Linked DNA regions of Homo sapiens: region 2 is linked to region 1. The links are contacts of gene promoters, found by promoter capture Hi-C in human tissues and cell types (Jung and others, 2019). All regions are on one chromosome and are shown on one strand. The core of a region is centred on a gene start or on the middle of the fragment in contact, and the rest is flanking DNA. Distances in the headings are between cores, read along the strand shown.

Evidence for each region. The method cuts DNA at HindIII sites, captures the fragments that hold promoters and counts their contacts. A contact is called where the count stands out against the background at its distance.
Region 2: a fragment that was not itself captured here is called in contact with the fragment with the promoter of KCNS1 in region 1 in 1 of the 25 tissues and cell types used here (spleen).

Annotation. Positions count from the first base shown.
Region 1 is chr20:45,098,056-45,104,034 of GRCh38, forward strand. KCNS1 (potassium voltage-gated channel modifier subfamily S member 1) reads right to left here and starts at 3,072. Exons shown (of 4, transcript NM_001322799.2): 1 at 2,866-3,072; 2 at 1,106-1,184; 3 at 1-640. The coding sequence starts at 1,181. The HindIII fragment of the contact is 6,202 bases long and covers 1-4,746 here.
Region 2 is chr20:45,688,076-45,694,266 of GRCh38, forward strand. The region is part of intron 2 of WFDC10B (WAP four-disulfide core domain 10B); the gene reads right to left. Among named protein-coding and RNA genes, the nearest start is that of WFDC13, 11 kb to the right of the region's middle. The HindIII fragment of the contact is 3,126 bases long and covers 3,080-6,191 here.

The DNA.
Region 1 (5,979 bases), core at 1,822-4,321:
ATGCACATGGCGGCGATGGAGGCGAGCACCACGCTGATGGAGACGCAGCTGAAGAGCTTGCTCGGCAGCGAGTAGCCCGGGTTCTCCATGGTCAGCCAGAGGCGGCGGCGCAGGCGGCCACAGCGCGCCGCGCCATAGCGCGCCAGTTCTCGCTGCACGTCGGAGATCTCGTCGGGGCACGGGTCCACGCTGCTCGGCGTGTCGCTGTCCTCGTCCCAGGCGTGCGGCTGGGTCAGCCGCCTCTCCAGGTAGCGCGCGCGGCAGCACGCGGCAAGCGCGTTCTCGCCTAGGCCCCAGTAGTCGGCCTCCTGGCCAAAGGCGAAGACGCACAGCTCGTCGAGCACGTGCAGGTGGCCAGTGCGGTAGAAGTGCAGCAGGCTCAGGAAGAAGCCCGGGTGCCGGTCGAAGTAGAATTCGCGCGCCGCCTCGTCGTAGTCGTCGCACAGGCGCCGCGCCTGCTCCTCCGACGCCGCGGCCTGCAGGCGGCCCAGCCGCGTGCCCGGGAAGCGCGCCAGGGCGCGCGCGCTCAGCTGCCGCCGCACGCCACCCACGTTCACGCGCAGCGCCTCGTCGCTTCGCCGCCAGCGGATCCCGGTGTCGGGGCCCGGGAACTCGCTCACAAAGGTTTCAGTGCTCCTCCCTGCGGACACCAGAAGGGCGCGCTGAGGAGTTCCCGGGCTTCCCTTCCTGGAAGACCAGGTTAAAATCCCCTCCTCCATCCAACCAGCCAAGGGGTGTTGGAGGCTGTGTGTGAAGCATCTGGTATGCAGGAGGCGCTCAGTAGATGTCAGGTGCCCTCTGGACTCAGAGTCAGGCCTGGCTTTGACTATCCTTCATCCCCATCATTTGACTTTGGCCAAATCACTGACCCACCCCACCCCCATTTCATTTTTCTCCTTTGGAAAGTAAATGCTGAGATCTACCTGGAAGGATATGAAAGCGATGGAATCGCAGGATGTCCTGGCACCTAGTGGGTGCTCACATAGGATGTCTCCTTTTCCAGGACAAACTTGGATTTATTTACACCAAAGGTCTACTGTGGGATCTTGGGCCCGCCAGCCCTCTGAACCTGTTTCTTCTGCAAAATGAGGATAGTAACACTTACCTCCTAGGGGTGTTGGCAGCACCACTTTAGACCGGAGGTTCTCATAGTGTGTTCCCCGGACCAGCAGCATCAGCATCACCTGGGAATTTGTCAAAGATGCAAATTCTCAGCCTGCCATCGATTTACTGAATCGGGAACTCTAAGGGTGGGGTCTAGCACTTTGTGTTCTAACAAGATTGGAAAGTGATTCGGCTACATAGTCAAGTTTGAGAGCTCCTGCTTTAGATTATGTAAAGCATCTGTAGAGTCAGCCAGACCTGACCTTGAATCTTGACTCTCTTGTGTCACCTTAGGCAAGTAACATCACCTCTCTGAGCCTCTGTGAAATGGAAATAAAAATATTCACCTCAAAGTGTGGTTATGAAGATTAAATGACCTAGTGTCTTTCTTGGGCTTGGCTCACAGAAGGAATTTAATAAATTATTCACTGGTGTCACTATCTTCTGGAGTCAGGCAAACCTGGGTTTATCTCCACCCCTGACGCACCTGGGGCCTTGAGGAAGCTATTTGTCCTCCAGGTCTCAATTTCCTGCACAACGTAGATAATAGCACCTACCTCCAGGGATGACTGGAGGATTAAGGTAGATTATAGAAAGTGCTCAGCCTTAGTGGATACTCAGGAAGGATTTAGGTTCTTCCACTACCCACTGACTCCTGACTCTGCTGGAATTGGGGGCTAGTGACACCTCCTCACCACTGGCAATCTCATTTGCACTGTGGGTTCAGTAATGCCTAGACTAGGGATTAAGTGTGTGTAAAGCACCTGGGCTTGGCATTAAATGGATTTGGGGTTCCACCCTTAGCTCTATCACTTGTGTGACCTCAGGCCAGTCTCCTTCCCACTCTGGGCTTTAGCTCTTTTACCTCTAGAATGGGGATAATGTTGCTTTGGATGCATCATTATTGTGGTATATGTCAAAGCCCTGGGAAAACAGTAGATGCTCAATAAATGTTAATCCTGTGTACTTCCCTGTGGTCAGACCTGAGTCTACCACTTACTAGCTGCTGTCCTTGAGTGCATTCGTCGCCCTCTCTGGGCTTGTTTCCCTGTCTGTGGAACCGGGTAGCATCATACTTTCCAGGAGAGGCTCAGAGAATTAAATGATGCAAGGTGTTTATCGGCAGCATGGTCCCTGGCACATAATCAATGCACAATAAACGTGTGATGTAGCTCCGCTCCCACCTCCACTTGGATCTCCACCTGCATTTGGCATCAAAAAATGAAATTTCTAATCCAGTTCCATCACCCATTAGAAGCATAATATTGGGCAAATCCCTTCATCCATCAGGAGCTCACTTTCCTGCTCTATGAAACAGGATAATTAATTCAACAAACATTTTCTGACAAGAACCTGAATATCAGTAAGAAAGACCAAGTGACTTGTTCAAAATCACCCAGCTAGTCCATGGCACAGCTAAGGTTGGAGACCAGGTTTTTTTATTTCATTCTCTCTCCACACACTTATTTTGAGCACCTCCTATCTGCTAGTCACTCCTCTGGGCTCCATGCACACCTCACTCGGTTTAATCCCTACACCAACCCTGCCAGGGAGGTTTTCTAATCCCATTTTACAGATGAGCAAACTGTACCAGCCAGGGTCTCCAAAGCGCGGCCACCCCACACTGCTTCCTCCTTGGCGGGGGGTGGGGGGTCTCTTAGAGGGGGTAAGAGCACCAGGAGCCCCAGGCAGCCCCGCCTCCCACTCTGGCTGCCCGGGACCGTCCCGGAGCCACGTCCCTCCCCAAAGGAGGCCCCTTACCTGTGGTGGCACCTCCCGGGCGCCTCGCGTGTCTGTCCCAAAGCCACCGAGGCTGGGAGCCGCTGGCTATACTCGGTCTCGCCTCTGCCCCGCCGGCCCCGCCGAGCCTCCTGCTGCAGGCGGCCCCGCTGCCCTCTCCTTCCTTCTTCCTTGCCTAGTCCCCCGCGGCTGAAGGCCGCATCGATCGCTGCCGGAGGAGGGAGTGAGGCCGCTGGCGGCCGGAGGCGGCGGTTTCTATTCCTGACTCGGCTGGGGGGTGGTGGTGTCTGGAGACTGGGCCTACCTGCAGGGGCATCCTCCGGAGTTACGGGCCGGGAAGGAGGGGTCATTTAGGGCGTGAGGATTCCCCGTAGAGAGGGATTTCAGCAGAAGCTTCTCTGGCAAAGGAACAACAGTAATCATGATTTACTTAATTGAGTGTTTAGTATGTGCCAGGGTACTTCAGCTGCTGCAAGTGATTGATCTCAGTTATTCCTGGCACACACACTTGACAGGGCCAGGATCTTATGTCGCCCATTTTAGGGGTGAGCTCCAGTCATTTTCTCAGACCGTGGGCATCTGAGTTAGGGAGCTGTAGAAGGTGGCCTCATCTCCCTTGGAGCCCCAGGTTCTTCCTAGGTGAGTTGTGAAGCTTGAAACGATCATTTTACCCCTGAGGCGCAGTGTCCTTACCTGCCCACGGGTTCCTGATTCCCACCTGCCAAGTGGGTTGTGAGGGCAGAGAACATGTGCCAAAGAGCTTTGTAGAGGTTGTGAAATCCCCACACATGTACCTGTTGTGTGGCTGCTGTGTGCCTGGTTGGGGAGAGGCTCCTGGAGACTAGGGCCTGGATATGAGCCTTTGCACATATTGTTATTAATAATAATGATAATTACCAACGTTTATTGAGTACTTACCTTGGGTCAAGCACAGACCTCAATCTCACTCAAACTGCAAATTTATCTGTGGGGTAAGTGCTACTATTATTCCTATCTCACAGATAAGAACTGCTTTGAGAGGTGTGGTGACTTGCCGGAGGTCCCATGGCTGACTTCTGAGTCCTCTAGGCCAGCACAGTCCAACACCTATAATGTGAGCCACATATATAATTTTATTTTATTTTATTTTTGATTTTTTGAGATAGAGTCTCACTCACTCTGTTGCAGGCTGGAGTGCAGTGGCACAATCTTGGCTCACTGCAACCTCCGCCTCCTGGGTTCAAGCGATTCTCCTGCCTCAGCCTCCTGAGTAGCTGGGATTACAGGCATGCACCACCATGCCCAGCTAATTTTTGTATTTTTAGTACAGAAGGGGTTTCACCATGTTGGCCAGGCTGGTCTTGAACTCCTGGCCTCAAATGATCCACCTGCCTTGGCCTCACAAAATGCTGAGATTACAGGCATGAGCCACCGCGTCCGGCCCACATATGTCCTTTTACATTTCTGATTGCAACATTTTAAAGAAGTAAAAAACAGGCGAAATTACAGTTACCCCTTAAACAGTGGGGGTTAGGGAAACCACTCCTCCATGCCTAGAAAATTAGAATATAACTTTTGACTCCCCTGAAACTTAACTAGTAATAACTTACTGTTCGCCAGAAACCTTACCAATAATATAAACAGTCGATTGACACATAAATAGTATCTACATATATCTTAGGCATTCACGACATATCTAACTTATTCTTAAGGCTTTTGATATTTCTAGTCTACATGGTTCATCTGTAAGTTTTTTCAAATTGTCACAAATCTCCAAAAATTTTCCAATGTATTTATTGGAAAAAAATCTGCATGTAAGTGGACACTAGCAGTTCAAACTCGTGTTGTTTCAGGATCAACTGTATTTTTAGTGATATATTTTATTAAATCTAAAATATTATGATTTCAACATTGGAATCAGTAAAGAAATTATTGAGATATTTTACATTTTCTTTTTTTTGTACTAAGTCTCTAAAATCCAGTACTAATTTTTCTTATTGCTACATAACAAATTACCACAATTTAGTAGCTTAAAACAATACAAATTTATGATCTCATGGTTTCTGTAGGTCAGAAGTCTGGGCATGGCCTGGCTGGACCCTCAGGGTCTCACCAGGTTGAAGCCAAGGTGTTGGCCAGGGTTGAGGTTCTCATGTGAGCTTCAGAGTTTTCTTCCAAGCTCACAGATTGTTGGCAGAATTCATTTCCTTGTGGTTATAGGACTGAGGTCTCTCTTTTCCTGTTAGCTGTCTCCGAGGGATCAATCTCAGATTCTAGAAGCTGCCCCATAGGCAGTTCATAGCATGAATGCTTGCTTTCTTTCAGGGACATCAGAGTGCTGAATTCCTCTCCTGTAACCAGCCAGAGAAAAATCTCTGGCTTTAAAACTCTCACCTGATTAGTCCAGGCCCACCCAGGGCACTCTCCCTTCTGCCATATAATATACATTCACGGGTTCCACCTACACTTAAAGAGGAGGAGATTATACAGGGATGAGGATCATTGAGGAGGGGTCATCTGAATTCTGCCTCCCATATATAAATCTAGTGTACTAATTTATTTTATTTTTTATTTTTTGAGAGAGATTTTTTGAGATTTATCTATAGCATATCTCAGTTTGGACTAGTCACATTTTATGTGCTCGGTAGCCACACATGGCTCGTGGCTGCCATATTAGACAGCACAGCCCTAGGCTGTGCCACTTTAGTTTTTCCCTCGAAAGAAGAAGTTAGAGCAGGAAGCTGCTTAGTGAGCATCTTGCCCAATTCCCTCATTTGACCAACAGGGAAACTGAGGCAGATTTGCCGAGAAGCAGGTCTTCTGTTTCCTGGCCTAAGAGTTTGTCTGCAGCCTTTGCTACCCCTCAGGACTCAGGAGTTTTCCCTGGAGCTGCAGAGACGGTTTCCAAAATTGAGAGAAAAGACAGACCTATTTCCCAAAGGCAGAAGAGAATGAAACCAGGATCTGGTTTCATCCCCAGATTACACAGTGAGAGGTAAATGAAGTTTTGGTGGAATCTGTGAGCCACAAGAGTGGGAAGGTGGGCCTTATGGGTGGGAAGGACGGGGCATCCCTGTCCTTCATGTACCATGGATGGTCTGTCCCCCAAATTCTCCCTCAGTCCCTGACCAGGTTTAGTCATTGGAATCCATGGGG
Region 2 (6,191 bases), core at 3,393-5,892, 590 kb after region 1:
CATGTGTTCTCATTGTTCAATTCCCACCTATGAGTGAGAATATGCGGTGTTTGGTTTTTTGTTCTTGCGATAGTTTACTGAGAATGATGATTTCCAACTTCATCCATGTCCCTGCAAAGGACATGAACTCATCATTTTTTATGGCTGCATAGTATTCCATGGTGTATATGTGCCACATTTTCTTAATCCAGTCTATCATTGTTGGACATTTGGGTTGGTTCCAAGTCTTTGCTATTGTGAATACTGCCGCAATAAACATACATGTGCATGTGTCTTTATAGCAGCATTATTTATAGTCCTTTGGGTGTATACCCAGTAATGGGATGGCTGGGTCAAATGGTATTTCTAGTTCTAGATCCCTGAGGAATCGCCACTCCCACCAACAGTGTAAAAGTGTTCCTATTTCTCCACATCCTCTCCAGCACCTGTTGTTTCTTGACTTTTTAATTATTGCCATTCTAACTGGTGTGAGATGATATCCCATTGTGGTTTTGATTTGCATTTCTCTGATGGCCAGTGATGGTGAGCATTTTTTCATGTGTTTTTTGGCTGCATAAATGTCTTCTTTTGAGAAGTGTCTGTTCATGTCCTTCGCCCACTTTTTGATGGGGTTGTTTGTTTTTTCCTTGTAAATTTGTTAGAGTTCATTGTAGATTCTGGATATTAGCCCTTTGTCAGATGAGTAGGTTGCGAAAATTTTCTCCCATTTTATGGGTTGCCTGTTCTCTGATGGTAGTTTCTTTTGCTATGCAGAAGCTCTTTAGTTTAATTAGATCCCATTTGTCAATTTTGGCTTTTGTTTCCATTGCTTTTGGTGTTTTAGACATGAAGTCCTTGCCCATGCCTATGTCCTGAATGGTAATGCCTAGGTTTTCTTCTAGGGTTTTTATGGTTTTAGGTATAACGTTTAAGTCTTTAATCCATCTTGAATTAATTTTTGTATAAGGTGTAAGGAAGGGATCCAGTTTCAGCTTTCTACATATGGCTAGCCAGTTTTCCCAGCACCATTTATTAAATAGGGAATCCTTTCCCCATTGCTTGTTTTTCTCAGGTTTGTCAAAGATCAGATAGTTGTAGATATGTGGCGTTATTTCTGAGGGCTCTGTTCTGTTCCATTGATCTATATCTCTGTTTTGGTACCAGTACCATGCTGTTTTGGTTACTGTAGCCTTGGAGTATAGTCTGAAGTCAGGTAGTGTGATGCCTCCAGCTTTGTTCTTTTGGCTTAGGATTGACTTGGCGATGTGGGCTCTTTTTTGGTTCCATATGAACTTTAAAGTAGTTTTTTCCAATTCTGTGAAGAAAGTCATTGGTAGCTTGATGGGGATGGCATTGAATCTATAAATTACCTTGGGCAGTATGGCCATTTTCATGATATTGATTCTTCCTAGCCATGAGCATGGAATGTTCTTCCATTTGTTTGTATCCTCTTTTATTTCATTGAGCAGTGGTTTGTAGTTCTCCTTGAAGAGGTCCTTCACGTCCCTTTTAAGTTGGATTCCTAGGTATTTTATTCTCTTTGAAGCAAATGTGAATGGGAGTTCACTCATGATTTGGCTCTCTGTTTGTCTGTTATTGGTGTATAAGAATGCTTGTGATTTTTGAACATTGATTTTCTATCCTGAGACTTTGCTGAAGTTGCTTATCAACTTAAGGAGATTTTGGGCTGAGACAATGGGGTTTTCTAGATATGCAATCATGTCATCTGCAAACAGGGACAATTTGACTTCCTCTTTTCCTAATTGAATACACTTTATTTCCTTCTCCTGCCTAATTGCCCAGGCCAGAACTTCCAACACTATGTTGAATAGGAGTGGTGAGAGAGGGCATCCCTGTCTTGTGCCAGTTTTCAAAGGGAATGCTTCCAGTTTTTGCCCATTCAGTATGATGTTGGCTGTGGGTTTGTCATAGATAGCTCTTATTATTTTGAGATACGTCCCATCAATACCTAATTTATTGAGAGTTTTTAGCATGAAGGTTGTTGAATTTTGTCAAAGGCCTTTTCTGCATCTATTGAGATAATCAGGTGGTTTTGTCTTTGGTTCTGTTTATATGCTGGATTACATTTATTGATTTGCGTATATTGAACCAGCCTTGCATCCCAGGGATGAAGCCCACTTGATCATGGTGGATAAGCTTTTTGATGTGCTGCTGGATTCGGTTTGCTAGTATTTTATTGAGGATTTTTGCATCAATGTTCATCAAGGATATTGGTCTAAAATTCTCTTTTTTGGTTGTGTCTCTGCCCGGCTTTGGTATCAGGATGATGCTGGTCTCATAAAATGAGTTAGGGAGGATTCCCTCTTTTTCTATTGGTTGGAATAGTTTCAGAAGGAATGGTACCAGTTCCTCCTTGTACCTCTGGTAGAATTCGGCTGTGAATCCATCTGGTCCTGGACTCTTTTTGGTTGGTAAGCTATTGATTATTGCCACAATTTCAGCTCCTGTTATTGGTCTATTCAGAGATTCAACTTCTTCCTGGTTTAGTCTTGGGAGAGTGTACGTGTCGAGGAATTTATCCATTTCTTCTAGATTTTCTAGTTTATTTTCGTAGAGGTGTTTGTAGTATTATCTGATGGTAGTTTGTATTTCTGTGGGATCGGTGGTGATACCCCTTTATCATTTTTTATTGCATCTATTTGATTCTTCTCTCTTTTTTTATTAGTCTTGCTAGTGGTCTATCAATTTTGTTGATCCTTTCAAAAAACCAGCTCCTAGATTCATTAAATTTTTGAAGGGTTTTTTGTGTCTCTATTTCCTTCAGTTCTGCTCCGATTTTAGTTATTTCTTGCTTTCTGCTAGCTTTTGAATGTGTTTGCTCTTGCTTTTCTAGTTCTTTTAATTGTGATGTTAGGGTGTCAATTTTGGATCTTTCCTGCTTTCTCTTGTGGGCATTTAGTGTCATAAATTTCCCTCTACACACTGCTTTGAATGTGTCCCAGAGGTTCTAGTATGTTGTGTCTTTGTTCTGATTGGTTTCAAAGAACATCTTTATTTCTGCCTTCATTTCGTTATGTACCCAGTAGTCATTCAGGAGCAGGTTGTTCAGTTTCCATGTAGTTGAGCGGTTTTGAGTGAGTTTCTTAATGCTGAGTTCTAGTTTGATTGCACTGTGATCTGAGAGATAGTTTGTTATAATTTCTGTTCTTTTACATTTGCTAAGGAGAGCTTTACCTCCAACTATGTGGTCAATTTTGGAATAGGTGTGTTGTGGTGCTGAAAAAAAATGTATATTCTGTTGATTTGGGGTGGAGAGTTCTGTAGATGTCTATTAGGTCCGCTTGGTGCAGAGCTGAGTTCAATTCCTGGGTATCCTTGTTGACTTTCTGTCTCGTTGATCTGTCTAATGTTGACAGTGGGGTGTTAAAGTCTCCCATTATTAATGTGTGGGAGTCTAAGTCTCTTTGTAGGTCACTCAGGACTTGCTTTATGAATCTGGGTGCTCCTGTATTGGGCGCATATATATTTAGGATAGTTAGCTCTTCTTGTTGAATTGATCCCTTTACCATTATGTAATGGCCTTCTTTGTCTCTTTTGATCTTTGTTGGTTTAAAGTCTGTTTTATCAGAGACTAGGATTGCAACCCCTGCCTTTTTTTATTTTCCATTTGCTTGGTAGATCTTCCTCCACCCTTTTATTTTGAGCCTATGTGTGTCTCTGCATGTGAGATGGGTGTCCTGAATACAACACACTGATGGGTCTTGACTCTTTATCCAATTTGCCAGTCTGTGTCTTTTAATTGGAGCATTTAGTCCATTACATTTAAAGTTAGTATTGTTATGTGTGAATTTGAACCTGTCATTATGATGTTAGCTGGTTATTTTGCTTGTTAGTTGATGCAGTTTCTTCTTAGTCTCCATGGTCTTTACATTTTGACATGATTTTGCAGTGGCTGGTAACGGTTGTTCCTTTCCATGTTTAGTGCTTCCTTCAGGAGCTCTTTTAGGGCAGGCCTGGTGGTGACAAAATCTCTCAGTATTTGCTTGTCTATAAAGTATTTTATTTCTCCTTCACTTATGAAGCTTAGTTTGGCTGGATATGAAATTCTGGGTTGAAACTCTTTCCTTTAAGGATGTTGAATATTGGTCCCCACTCTCTTCTGGCTTGTAGAGTTTCTGCCGAGAGATCCACTGTTAGTCTGATGGGCTTCCCTTTGTGGGTAACCCGACCTTTCTCTCTGGCTGCCCTTAACATTTTTTCCTTGATTTCAACTTTGGTGAATCTGACAATTATGTGTCTTGGAGTTGCTCTTCTCGAGGAGTATCTTTGTGGCATTCTCTGTATTTCCTGAATCTGAATGTTGGCCTGCCTTGCTAGATTGGGGAAGTTCTCCTGGATAATAACCTGCAGAGTGTTTTCCAACTTGGTTCCATTCTCTCTGTCACTTTCAGGTACACCAATCAGACGTAGATTTGGTCTTTTCACATAGTCCCATATTTCTTGGAGGCTTTGTTCATTTGTTTTTATTCCTTTTTCTCTAAACTTCCCTTCTCGCTTCATTTCATTCGTCTTCCATCACTGATACCCTTTCTTCCAGTTGATCACATTGGCTCCTGAGGCTTCTGCATTCTTCATGTAGTTCTCGAGCCTTGGCTTTCAGCTCCATCAGCTCCTTTAAGCACTTCTCTGTATTGGTTATTCTAGTTATACATTCGTCTAAATTTTTTTCAAAGTTTTTAACTTCTTTGCCTTTGGTTTGAATTTCCTCCTGTAGCTCGTAGTTTGATCGTCTGAAGCCTTCTTCTCTCAACTTGTCAAAGTCATTCTCCGTCCAGCTTTGTTCCATTGCTGGTGAGGAACTGTGTTCCTTTGGAGGAGGAGAGGTGCTGTGCTTTTCAGAGTTTCCAGTTTTTCTGCTCTGTTTTTTCCCCATCTTTGTGGTCTTATCTACTTTTGGTCTTGATGATGGTAATGTAGAGATGGGTTTTTGGTGTGGATGTCCTTTCTGTTTGTTAGTTTTCCTTCTAACAGACAGGACCCTTAGCTGCAGGTCTGTTGGAGTTTGCTAGAGGTCCACTCCAGACCCTGTTTGCCTGGGTATCAGCAGCGGTGTCTGCAGAACAGTGGTTTTTCGTGAACCGCGAATGCTACTGTCTGATCGTTCCTCTGGAAGTTTTGTCTCAGAGGAGTACCCAGCTGTGTGAGGTGTCAGTCTGCCCCTACTGGGGGGTGCCTCCCAGTTAGGCTGCTCAGGAGTCAGGGGTCAGGGACCCACTTGAGGAGGCAGTCTGCCCATTCTCAGATCTCCAGCTGCATGCTGGGAGAACCACTGCTCTCTTCAAAGCTGTCAGACAGGGACATGTAAGTCTGCAGAAGTTACTGCTGTCTTTGTTTGTCTGTGCCCTGCCCCCAGAGGTGGAGCCTACAGAGGCAGGCAGGCCTCCTTGAGCTGTGGTGGGCTCCACCCAGTTGGAGCTTCCCGGCTGCTTTGTTTACCTAAGCAAGCCTGTGCAATGGTGGGCGCCCCTCCCCCAGCCTTGCTGCCGCCTTGCTGTTTGATCTCCGACTGCTGTGCTAGCAATCAGCGAGACTCGGTGGGCATAGGACCCTCCGAGCCAGGTGTGGGATATAATCTCCTGGTGCGCCGTTTTTTAAGCCTGTCGGAAAAGCACAGTATTGGGGTAGGAGTGACCCGATTTTCCAGGTGCCGTCTGTCACCCCTTTCTTTGACTAGGAAAAGGAACTCCCTGACCCCTTGCGCTTCCCGAGTGAGGCAATGCCTCGCACTGCTTCGGCTTGCGCACGGTGCGCTGCACCCACTGACCTGCGCCCACTGTCTGGCACTCCCTAGTGAGATGAACCCGGTACCTCAGATGGAAATGCAGAAATCACCCGTCCTCTTCATCGCTCACGCTAGGAGCTGTAGAACGGAGCTGTTCCTATTCAGCCATCTTGGCTCCTCCTCCTGTTTGTTTTTTCTTATAAATTTAAGTTCCTTGTAGACTCTGGATACTAGACGTTTGTCAGGTGGATAGATTGCAAACATTTTCTCCCATTTTGTAGGTTGTCTGTTCACTCTGATGATAGTCTATTTTGCTGTACAGAAGCTCTTTAGTTTAATTAGATGCCATTTGTCAATTTTTGCTTTTGTTGCAATTGCTTTTGGTGATTTTGTCATGAAATCTTTGCCAATGCCTATGTCCTGAATGGTATTGCCCAGATTTTCTTCTAGAGTTTTTATAGTCTGGAGT